Regions from separate parts of the Homo sapiens genome. Here region 2 is linked to region 1. The links are contacts of gene promoters, found by promoter capture Hi-C in blood cells and fetal thymus (Javierre and others, 2016). All regions are on one chromosome and are shown on one strand. The core of a region is centred on a gene start or on the middle of the fragment in contact, and the rest is flanking DNA. Distances in the headings are between cores, read along the strand shown. Region 1 holds the start of RPA4 (replication protein A4). Region 2 overlaps DIAPH2 (diaphanous related formin 2).

Evidence for each region. The method cuts DNA at HindIII sites, captures the fragments that hold promoters and counts their contacts. A CHiCAGO score of 5 or more calls a contact.
Region 2: a contact is called between a fragment that was not itself captured here and the fragment with the promoter of RPA4 in region 1, in 1 of 17 cell types (neutrophils). The highest score is 5.9, in neutrophils.

What each region holds. Positions count from the first base shown.
Region 1 is chrX:96,881,775-96,887,534 of GRCh38, reverse strand. It overlaps RPA4 (replication protein A4), which reads right to left and starts at 3,627. Exons shown (of 1, transcript NM_013347.4): 1 at 2,068-3,627. The coding sequence starts at 3,224. The coding sequence ends at 2,439. All of the region lies in intron 5 of DIAPH2 (diaphanous related formin 2), which reads right to left. The HindIII fragment of the contact is 5,808 bases long and covers 1,035-5,760 here.
Region 2 is chrX:97,431,272-97,437,031 of GRCh38, reverse strand. All of the region lies in intron 26 of DIAPH2 (diaphanous related formin 2), which reads right to left. Among named protein-coding and RNA genes, the nearest start is that of DIAPH2-AS1, 130 kb to the left of the region's middle. The HindIII fragment of the contact is 2,091 bases long and covers 1,299-3,389 here.

The DNA of each region.
Region 1 (5,760 bases), core at 2,378-4,877:
AATACATACATTTCGTAAGCCTGTGAGCCATAGGAAAAAACCTTGGGTGGATTATAATCATCAATTATGTTTTTCAGGTTCCTCAGGCTTAAATGTCCCTGCCCAAAATAGTCAATAGTATGTCCCCAGGATTTGTATCTTATCCTCAAAAGGTGTGGCTAACTATCAGGGCAGGACCTTGGAGAAAGGGGATATTAGCCAAGTCATTCCCAGTCTAAACAAAATTGAAAAAGTATGCATGCCAGGTGGGTGTTCAAAATGAACTTTAAAAATCTGCTACCTTTAACATGGACTAAATATACATGTATAAAACAATCCAGTGATTTTCTGCCTAAAAGTGTTTTATTTCCACTGACATTATATCTAGACCTACTTACTATTTTTCCACTGCTATCTCTTACCTGCAGCAGAATCCACTAAAGCACACGATTCCATTCAGAAGAATAAGCGTTGGGAGGAGTAATTTTAAAAGCCTAAAAAAACCCCAACGAACACAGATAGAGGACATTTCCCCTCACAGGATGGGAGAGAGGTTGGTCTTCTGCCTTAAATTCAGGTGTACATATCTCAGTGTATCAGTTTGCAGGGACAAAAGCAGTTTGGCCTCCCAAACAAAAAAAAAAGAGTTTTTTTCCCCCTCCGCATGCTCCTAGTATAGGAAAAACAAGTGGCTACGCATCCACTGGCCAGCTGAATCAGCTCAAGCAATTATGGGAGTGACCTATAATTATACTCATAAATATCAGATTTTAATGTCACAAAAGAATATTGTATCTGCTAGACTCTTTCAGCTCCACAATTCCAAGTATATATGCCCCTTGTTGCCTCTCCCCCAGTATGATTTTCCCTAGGACAGGTAACCTTTTTCAACAAAAAGTGGTTCCGAATATTTTAGGTTTATGAAGACCAGAATTTTCAAAATGTCTGATAATTTAAGTAACAGGTTTATAGTATGTTATTCATCTGTGCTTTTCAAGAGTGCCATTTACAATTTCTTTACTTTCAAGGGGAAGAAAAATATGCATCACAAAGCTTAAGCAAGAATTAGTGGTTTTTCTAATGGCCACTGACACAGGCCATTTTCTGAAAGTTTTCCTGAAAGTACGGAGTACTGGCAATGTTCCATTTAAGAGATTTTTTTTTTGTTGCAGTTTTCATGATTCAATTTGACAAATAATGTTCTTCTATTTGTATATTATATATGAATATACATATATAAAATATAACATATATTCATTAAAAAGTATATGTTTTTTATTTCCTCTAATGTAAAAAAATTAGCATCTTGAAAGACACCATCTTTAGTGTATAGGTAACTGAGGGCTTTCGTTAATGGTCAATTATTTAAAAGTCTCACATAATTTATATAATCTACACTAAAATGTATTGTTAGAACTAGGCTATAGCATATGTTCTGGGTATTTTATATATAGAAAAGAAAAAATTCTGGATAAGTGAAACTATTAATCCTCAAGGATATAAAACAAAAAGGCTTTTTCAAATGTACTTAGAAAAAAAAATCACACAGGAAAGTTAAGATTTTGTAAACTACTTTAATAAAACATTTGAATAAATTTGTGTTAAACTCAGTAAGTTTCATATTCCTATGAGCTGTTTCCCTAACGTCCTAAAAATTACCTTTTTATACATAAAACAGAGCATTTAGTAAAATAAATAATACACCAGCACATCAAACTTACAGAAACTCTGGCATCCATTTACCATACAACTACAATAAATTGTAATTTCATCCAAATACCACATCATATATGAAATAATCATTGAACTTCACCACATTTTAAAAAATTTCAAAGATAACCTGGCAAAAATGGTTTATTTAAACACAGTATAATCTTATTTTAAGAAAACATAAATTCATAGTAATAAGAGCAAATCACACATAAATGTTTGAACTGAGCATTAGAATTCACAAATTAGTATCTTCAGCTCATTTGAATTAATCAAATACTAAATACTATATTGAGCAAGAGATAACAGTATCATTATAATAAGCTAAATCCAAACACGGAAAATAAGTCTAACATAAAAACAAGCAAGACTTTTTTTTTTTTTTTTTTTTTTTTTGTCTTTTCGCTGGCTCCCTGACTGCAACTAGTTTTTCTTTTGGAAAAAGAAGCTCCAACACAATTAAATAATAAATTTCTACATTTTCTGTAGTTTTTCTTCCCCGAAAATCATGTTTCCATTAGCTTGCTAGTAAATCCTACAGAGTTGTCAATTTATCCATCACCGTCTCTCTCTGAGCTTCAAATACAGAAAATCCGAAAAGTTCAAAGCAGTTAGAAAAGCAGCGAGTTGACAAAGAATGCCACTTGAGATTTTTTTTTTTAGTCCTACTTCCTAAAAAGTCAACAGGTCAAAATTACTCACAGCTGGATGCAAGGGTCTTCGAAAAATGAAAGGATGTTTTCCCTGCCTCAATCAGCAGACTTAAAATGCTCCCGATCCACAGTGGGATAGATGTGGCCCTCAACGGTCAGATAATCAATCGCTTCCTTGATGGCCTTGACGCTAAGGTCGCAGAGCTGAGCCCGGAGCTCATGGATGCTCTTCCCTTCCTGATGAGGACACTCATGAATCAAACGCAGCACTTCGTCCTGGATGAAATTGCGGTGACTCTCATCGTTATCCCCAGCATCATTCACTTCTGATGGAGACACAGGCACACTTTCTACAGTGGTATCACGACGGGCTTTATCCAGCATCATGTGTGCATTGACCGTTTCCAGAATATGCACGGTGAACTCGTTCATGTCCTCTAGGACATGAATTTTCAATACCTCAAGGCTCTTTGTTCCCGTGGGACATTTGAGGATACCAAACACTTTGACATATACTCCGACTGACAATGGAGTCACCTGCTTGACTTTCTCTCTACCAAACCACTGTCGGGCCTCGATTGGTTTCGCGGTCATATCATCAATTTTGTAACAAATGTGATTTGAAGCCTTCTCTGCCCCTCTGATTACCCCCACGATGGAGACCTGGGAAACTATAATTCCCCTAACCTTGAACACAGGGTCAAACACAGTAGAGCTGAGAAGCTGGTTCACATTACACGGTACAACGTCCTGAATTCGGACCTTAGGTCTTTGGGTCTTAATAGCAGGAGTTGCATCTCTCTCACACAGTTGGTCACTGCCTCCACTCGCTCCATCAGCAGCAGAAATGCTGCCATAGCTCCCAAACCCACTCTTACTCATCTTCAAGACAGCTCAGGCTGAGGAGAAGGTGGGCTTTGGCTCGTCTGGGGCTCCACGGACGGCTTTGAGTTCTCCACAGAAGGCTTCGAGCTCTCCACAGAAGGCTTCGAGCTGTCCGAAAGGCTACGATTGAATGCTGGGAGGCTGAGGACGTGACAAGCGTCACGCTACCTGTGGACCAATCAACTACCAGAATGCATCTGCTTCCAGCCAGTCAGGGTCGGCCACCTTCTCACCTGATCGCATAATCCTTCCCTGTGTGTCAGTGGTTGCTACATTCTAAAAGTCCCACACGAGGGGAGCCCTGTTGCTTAGCTGGTCAAAGCGCCTATCTATTAAAAGTCCCACGTGTAATTTCAAGCAAGCCTTTCCCAACATCTCTATAAAAATGCATTTTTACTAGCCCCCCTCTTTATTTCTTAATGCTGCAACTTCTACAATTACTTTTAAAAGACTCATTTATTCATTCATTCAAACAACAATGCAACAGAAATTTTAGGAGCACAAAGTGCTTGGCAAAACGGTAGAGTGCTGTACGTTACGTGCAGGGGGGAAAAATGCACCACCGTAGTTACTGTTCTCAAGAACTCACGTCCCCTGTTCATTCAAACCATTAAAACTAGGAGCATCAGGCCGGGCGCAGTGGCTCACGCCTGTAATCCCAGAACTTTGGGAGGCTGAGGCAGGTTGATTACTTGAGGTCAGGAGTTCGAGACTAGCCTGCCAACGTGGTGAAATCCCGTCTCTACTAAAAATACTAAAATTAGCCAGGCGTGGTGGTGCAGGCTTGTAATCCCAGCTACTCGGGAGGCTGAGGCAGGAGAATCGCTTGAACCCAGGAGGCAGAGGTTGCAGTGAACCGAGACAGCACCACTGCACTCCAGCCTCGGTGACAAGAACAAAACTCCGTCTCAAAAAAAAAAACAAAAAACAAAAAACAAAAAACCTAGGAGCATTTTGGAAGAAATGGCAAGACAATCGTCTTTCAACGATTATCATACTCTAAGATAAGTCACATCTTAACACTGGCTTTTAAAAAATTTTTTGTTGTTTTAAAATTGTAATTTTCTGGGCATTTTGCCAAGTGCACTATAAATAAGTAATTAATATATTTCAATTTATACATAAATCCAAACTGAATGACTGAGCTCTAAATTATTTTCAAGGCTCTGTGGACAGGACAGAAAAGTACAAGACTTAGACCTATTATATATTAGGAAAAACATGGATAAAATCACAGTAAGTTTTTTATATACTCTTATGGAGTAAATTCTGAACTTAAGATTCTAGTAGTTACATAAATAGATCCCGGATTTTTGTTTTTTTGTTTTTTTTTTTTTTTTTTTTTTTTGGAGACAGGGTCTCGCTCTGTCTCCCAGGTTGGAGTGCAGTGGCGGGATATGGGCTCACTGCAACCTCCACCTCCCGGGCTGAGGTGATCCTCCCACCTCAGCCTCGTGAATACCTGGGACCACAGGCGCACATCACCACACCTGGCTGACTTTTTTGTATTTTTGGTAGAGACGGGGTTTCACCATGTTGGCCAGGCTGGTCTCGAACTCCTGGACTCAAGCGATCCACTTGCCTCAGCCCCCTGAAGTGCAGGGATTATAGGTGTGAGCCCCCACGCCCGGCCAAGAATGTTTTGATATTTTATTGAAATTTTATTTTTCTTTATAAAACATTTTATTTTGGGTGTTATTGATTTAAAGGCTTAATAAAGGAACCACAGTTACTGGAATCCACCATTGGCAAGTAACCTAATAACAATCCTTTGTAGTTAGTTAATAGCCTAAATTAGTAGAGTTTTGAGAAGTTTATTAATGCTCTCACTTCTTTTACTGGTTAAAATAATTCACTTTTTGCTATCTCAAAATTACAGAAATATGTGAAGAGTATATCTAAAACTTATAGAAGAACATAAAGTTATATATACCTTTCAAGTTTTAAAAGAATAAAATCGGCCGGGCGCGGTGGCTCACACCTGTAATCCCAGCACTTTAGAAGACCAAGGCAGGTGGATCACGAGATCAAGAGTTCGAGACCAGCCTGGCCAATATGGTGAAACCCCTTCCCTACTAAAAATACAAACATCAGCCAGGCATGATGGTGCGTGCCTGTAGTCCCAGCTACTCAGGAGGCTGAGGTAGAAGAATTGCTTGAACCTGGGAGGCAGAGGTTGCAGTGAGCCAAGATCGTGCCACTGCACTCCAGCCTGGGCAACAGAGCAAGACTCTGTCTCACAAAAAAAAAAAAGAATAAAATCATGGAGCAAATATACTTAATTTGCTTTATAAATAAATATATAATAATTATCTGATCCCACAAATAGATTTCCATGTAAATGTGGATATTTAACTTCTGGCTCTATGTTAACATTTGTATTCTTAAAATTGTACATTACTAGAGATCCAACTAACTAAATATATTTTTAAAAGTTTACGACTTCACAATCAGATGCTGCTGTTTTATTAACATCAGATTTTTAGTCAGGAAATCTTGAGGTTTAAATAACAAAACTTATTATATTCCCAAA
Region 2 (5,760 bases), core at 1,095-3,594, 550 kb before region 1:
TCCTCTGTGATGGTGGGCGGGGGAGGGTGTCATTTAAAATTGAAAGCTCTTTCTCTAAAATTATCTGTAATAGTCTGAGGCATAAGCAGTACTACTTGGTACACAGGTGGAGTGCCGCACTAAAGGAAAAGAGAGAGGCATTTCCCCCCTACTTTGTCAATGATGACTGTCAAACTCTGGCGTTGTGAAGCCATGAGTCCCTGCTGCTACAGAAGACAGCAAGCGTAGAAATGCATGATATTATAGCAGAGGTGGAGGAACGGTGGTGTTTGCTTGTTTCTGTGAAATGCCCCCTGATAACTCCCAGAAATGCTTCATAGATCCCTTATAGCAGATGAGGTGCTGAATGTGTATGTAGAGACAAGAGCCAGCAAAATTTGAGTTTTCTTATTTACATGAGGCAGTGAGGCCTGGGGAAATGTGGGTTTTGTTTTGCTGTGAAATTATTCTTCCCTAATACATACGGAGGTTTCTTTTTCTCTGTTGTATAACATTGTTTCTTGTCCCCTATCTGTTCTCAAATGGTAAATTATACCTTCTCATTTATACTGTTATCTTGCTGACACATAAAACTAGGATCATGTGTCTCCTGAGTTGCTCCTGATTTTTGAAATTTAGTTTTCTTGGTTGCCCCGTGTGGTTCTAAAACCAAAATACATTTATTGTTTCCTGGTTTCATTTCTTCATAATGCTTCTCTTGTGTGTTTTTTTAATGTCTAGAACTATATATCAAAATCCAGTCATAGCCAAAATGCTAAGTTAGATATCCACCTATTGCTGAGAAGCCCATTTATATTTACTTACAGTGGGCAAAGAATAAAAAAGTCGGGTTGGTTGAAGAAAGAGAAGCAAGCTCTAAGTATCTATAGCTATTTGGCAATAAAACAGATGTGGAGTTGTGTATTTGTATTTTAAGAGTGGTTTTCTGGCTGGGCACGGTGGCTCACGCCTGTAATCCCAGCACTTTTGGAGGCCAAGGAGGGTGGATCACGAGGTCAGGAGATTGAGACCATCCTGGCTAACACGGTGAAACCCCGCCTCTACTAAAAATACAAAAATTAGCCGGGCGTGGTGGCAGGCCCTGTAGTCCCAGCTACTTGGGAGGCTGAGGCAAGAGAATGGCATGAACCCGAGAGGCGGAGCTTGCAGTGAGCCAAGATCGCGCCACCGCACTCCAGCCTGGGCAACAGAGTGAGAGTCCATCTCAAAAAAAAAAAAAAGGAAAAAAAGAAAAAAAAAAAGAGTCATTTTCACTCCTGCAAGGTGTCTCTCTATGTGCTTCTTTTTCCTCCAAAGCTTATCTTTGATCTTACAATTACACAGCCAGGGCAATTCTTTACAAAGTAGATGGTAAATGTATGCAACTTATTATCTTATGTGGTAACAAAGGCTGTAACAACACAGGATCAAGAAAGATTTAGCAAAATTCAGAGAAGATAAATCCATACTAGGTTGTGAAGGAAAAATGAGATGTACCTTTCACCCACCAAACTGCTAGAAAGAATAGCCCATATTATACAGACACAAAGGAGAGAGGTGGGGGGTTGGGAGTGGTTACTCTAACTCCTATGCTGCACAGGCTTACTGTTCCTATCTCTATTACAGCATATAGAAGACCGCATTGTAAATTGATCACATGGTTTATATTCGTGTTTTCCCAAACAGTATGTGAGCTCCTCTAGGCTCCCGTTTGATTTTGTATCCTCAGTACCTAACTCAGTATAATGCACCGAGGAGGCATTCAATAAGACTGCTCAACTGTTGAATGAATATGATCTTTCCCTATAGCCTCACCATCTACTCTGCATAGCTCTGTATTCTCTTCCCAGTTCCATCACAATATTGAAAGGATGCTCTTCAAAAAGTCATTAGAAAGCTCCCAAATAGCAAATCATCGGTTTTTTACCCTTTTTTATTCCACCAGAGCGTATGTCATTGTCAAAAATGTTCACCTCTCCTCCCTTCTTAGGACTTCCCTCTTCCTTTGTTTCTAGGACAATAATGTCTGGATTCTCCTACCTGCCCAATTGCTCCTTGTCTATCTTCTTTTAGCCCCTTAGTGAAGGTGTTTCCAAGTCTCTGTCTTTGGTTTTCTTTTCTCTTAAAAATCCCTATAACAATCCCTTCCCCTATCCACACTATATCCAGAACACTCAAGAATTCATTTTGTCATGAAATCTGTAACTATATTTCCAAAAATCTTCTGGACATCTTGACCTCAGTGTTCTGCTATCACTTTCAGTTTAACTTATCCAAAACTGAATTTACCTTCTTCTACTATCACCACTCCTTTTCTTGATCTTAATAGTTTAGTAACCTTACGGCTGGGTGCGGTAGCTCACACCTGTAGTCCCAGCACTTTGGGAGGCCAAGGCGGGCGGATCATGAGGTCAGGAGATTGAGACCATCCTGGCCAATATGATGAAACCTCGTCTCTACTAAAAATTAAAAAAAAATTAGCTGGGTGCGGTGGCGTGTGCCTGTAATCCCAGCTACTCAGGAGGCTGAGGCATGAGAATTGCTTGAACCTGGGAGGCGGAGGTTGCAGTGAGCGGAGATCGCACCACTGCACTTCAGCCTGGGGACAGAGTGAGACTCCTTCTCAAAAAAAAAAAAAAAAAAGTTTAGTAACCCAAATGTCTTCTTAGCCAGTCATACTCAAAGCCATAGGGTTATCTTTGCCTCTTGACTACTCCTCTCACGCTAAATTATCTCTAAATAAGAATATGACAATAGACTCCTAATTGATTACTTATACTCCTTTAAATATTCTAATGCGTAACTTGTGTTCCTCCACTGCTTAAAAGCCTTCAATAAATCCCCATTGCTTAGAGAATTGTAAGTTAACACCTTAGTCTCTCATTCAAGCACTCCCTGATATGGAGCAAACCTAATTTTCCAGAATTACCCCTATACTTCTATGCTATATATATCCTATTTTCTTACTGTACTGTTTGCCATTGTTGAAAAATGCTTTGAACTTTCTTGCCTCTGTTTTTCTTAATGACATTTCTTTTGACTAAAATGCCCACTATCCCTAACTCCAGCTCTCACTGTTGGAATCCCTACTCATCCTTCAGTCTTTTCCTCCATTATTATTTTTCTGATATATCTGATAATGCATGCAAGTCCCATTCTCTGAAGTCACACAGTATGTTATTAACACCTCTTGTATGATACTTATTATCTTCTGCCTTATTCTGTAGTCTTTCTGTGCTTTTTATCGTTCCTATAATACACAGGGTCTTATAACTAAGGAAATCTTATCTTAATTATTTCTACATCTTCCCTCATCATGTACAGCATAGTACCTTTTACACAGCAGATGTACAATAAATGAATATTTAGGGGCTCATTTCCTAATCTCTGATTTTGACATCAGCAAAGCTTGTGATCTGGGTTAATATTCAGCTAGTATGCACCAGTACAACCAGAGTCGTTATTTATCACCTGTGTACATTTCGACTATCTGGGGCCTGTGATACACCAGTTAATATTTTCTTTTTTTCTTTTTTTGAGTCAGGGTCTGGCTCTGTCATCCAGGCTGGAGTGCAGTGGCACGATCTCTACTCATTGCAACGTCTGCCTACCGTGCTCAAGCAATCCTCTCACCTCAGCCACCTGAGTAGCTGGGACTACAGGCACATGCCACCATGCTTGGCTAATTTTTTTTTGTATTTTTTTGTAGAGATGGGGTTTTGCTATGTTGTCCAGGCTGTCCTCAAACTCCTGAGCTCAAATGATCCTCTCACCTCAGCCTCCCAAAGTGCTGGGATTATAGGGATGAGCCACCACGCCCAGCCTTTTTGTTTTTTATTAAAAAAAAATATTTTCAATTATCACTACTGATATGATAGTCTACCTTGAAATGCCTTTTGGTACTTAACTGAAACAGCACATCCGCTGAATGGGCTGGAGGCAATATGTGGAAGCTCCTTCTGAGTTACTAAATATGGTAGGTCTTGGGTAGGGGGCACAGGCTCAGAGTGGGCGATTTATAATTTAGGCAACTAATCATATCATTTATTAACATTTTGATTTTCTAATGAAGAATACAGACTATCACCTCATCTTGTTTACATATAAAATTTAAAACATTACAATTAGATGGCCGGGCACAGTGGCTCACACCTCTACTCCCAGCAATTTGGGAGGCCCAAGTGGGTAGATCACCTGAGGTCAGGAGTTCGAGACCAGCCTGGGCAATAGGGCAAAACACAGTCTCTACTAAAAATACAACAATTTGGCCGGGCATGGTGGCTCACGCCTGTAATCCCAGCACTTTGGGAGGCCGAGGTGGGCGGATCACCTGAGGTCAGGAGTTTGAGGCCAGCCTGGCCAACCTGGCGAAATACCATCTCTACTAAAAATACAAAAACTAGCTGGACGTGGTGGCGGGCACCTGTAGTCCCAGATACTCGGGAGGCTGAGTCAGCAGAATCACTTGAACCTGGGAGGTAGAGGCTGCAGTGAGCCAAGATCATGCCACTGTACTGCAGCCTGGGCAACAGAGCAAGACTCTATCTCAAAATATAAAAATAAAAATAAAAATAAAATAAAAATACAACAATTAGCTGGGCATGGTGGTATGTCCCTGTAATCCCAGATACTGGAGAGGCTGAGGCACGAGAATCTCTTGAACCCAGGAGGTGGAGGTTGCAGTGGGCCGAGATCGCACCACTGTACTCCAGCCTGGGCAACAGGGCAAGAGTCCGTCTCAAAAAAATAATAATAAATAAAAAATAAATAAAAAGATTACAATTAGAAACACAATGGTAGAGCTCTGTATTTTACATAACAGTAATACCCATCTATAAGCGATGGTAATGAAAATGGCAAGCAGAGCAGTAAGTACATCTCCGCTGATTGTGGTTGACTCTGATTTTAGTGTTTTTTGGATTTTCCTTTTATTTTACTTTACTTGGGGGAAGATAGCCTTCTTTATAATTAGCCTTTTCTGCTTTTATCTCATCATGCTGAAGTGGAGGTTGTTGGAAAAGATCAAGAATGTCAATGTTGAACAGGGAAAGTATAACAATACCAAGTCAATGGGATCTTGGAAAGGAAACAAATCAGGTGCCTAAGAAAGTAAAAATAACGGGACTAGCAGGAAAAGATGATCTAGCTAGGAAGGGCTGAGGCAAGGAGGAAATCTGTAAAAGTCCCCGGTTCTGCTTCTTCCAGAAAGAGGCAGACAGAGTTTTTTGGCAGACTTGTAAACTCTGTGCCTTCTGTCCCCACTCCCTCACTTCCAGCTCTTCTACTGATGACCAAGGTGCTTCCCAACCACTGCCACTGTCTGCATTCGAGTTTCGTTTTACCTCTGGACATTTGCTTTGGCTGCTGCCACTTGGAATGACTGCCACAGCTAAATCGAGTGATATTTTTAACCCTATGTGTTCATGGAGGCACTCCAGCTACAAACCAAAGGAAATCCCAATTTAGATTACTTGGAATCAGTACTATAAAATTATGCAGTTTGTGAATATATTCTTGGTGTTTCACAGTTGACAACACTATATTCCCTTGAGTACCAAACTCACAGAAACCCCATGGAATGATCTCTCTCTCCAAGTACAGTTTTTCTGGAATCAGTATGAGGTGTGAGACTAATCAGACAAGGGCTTTAGCAAATGTGCATTTTTAAAATAAACAGCCTAGAAAAATTATGGCAGTTCTTTTATGGCCCAGAATAACATGTTTTCACTTATCAGCTGCTTAACAGAGAAATGAATTGATACAAAAATGATTTCAGTTCAC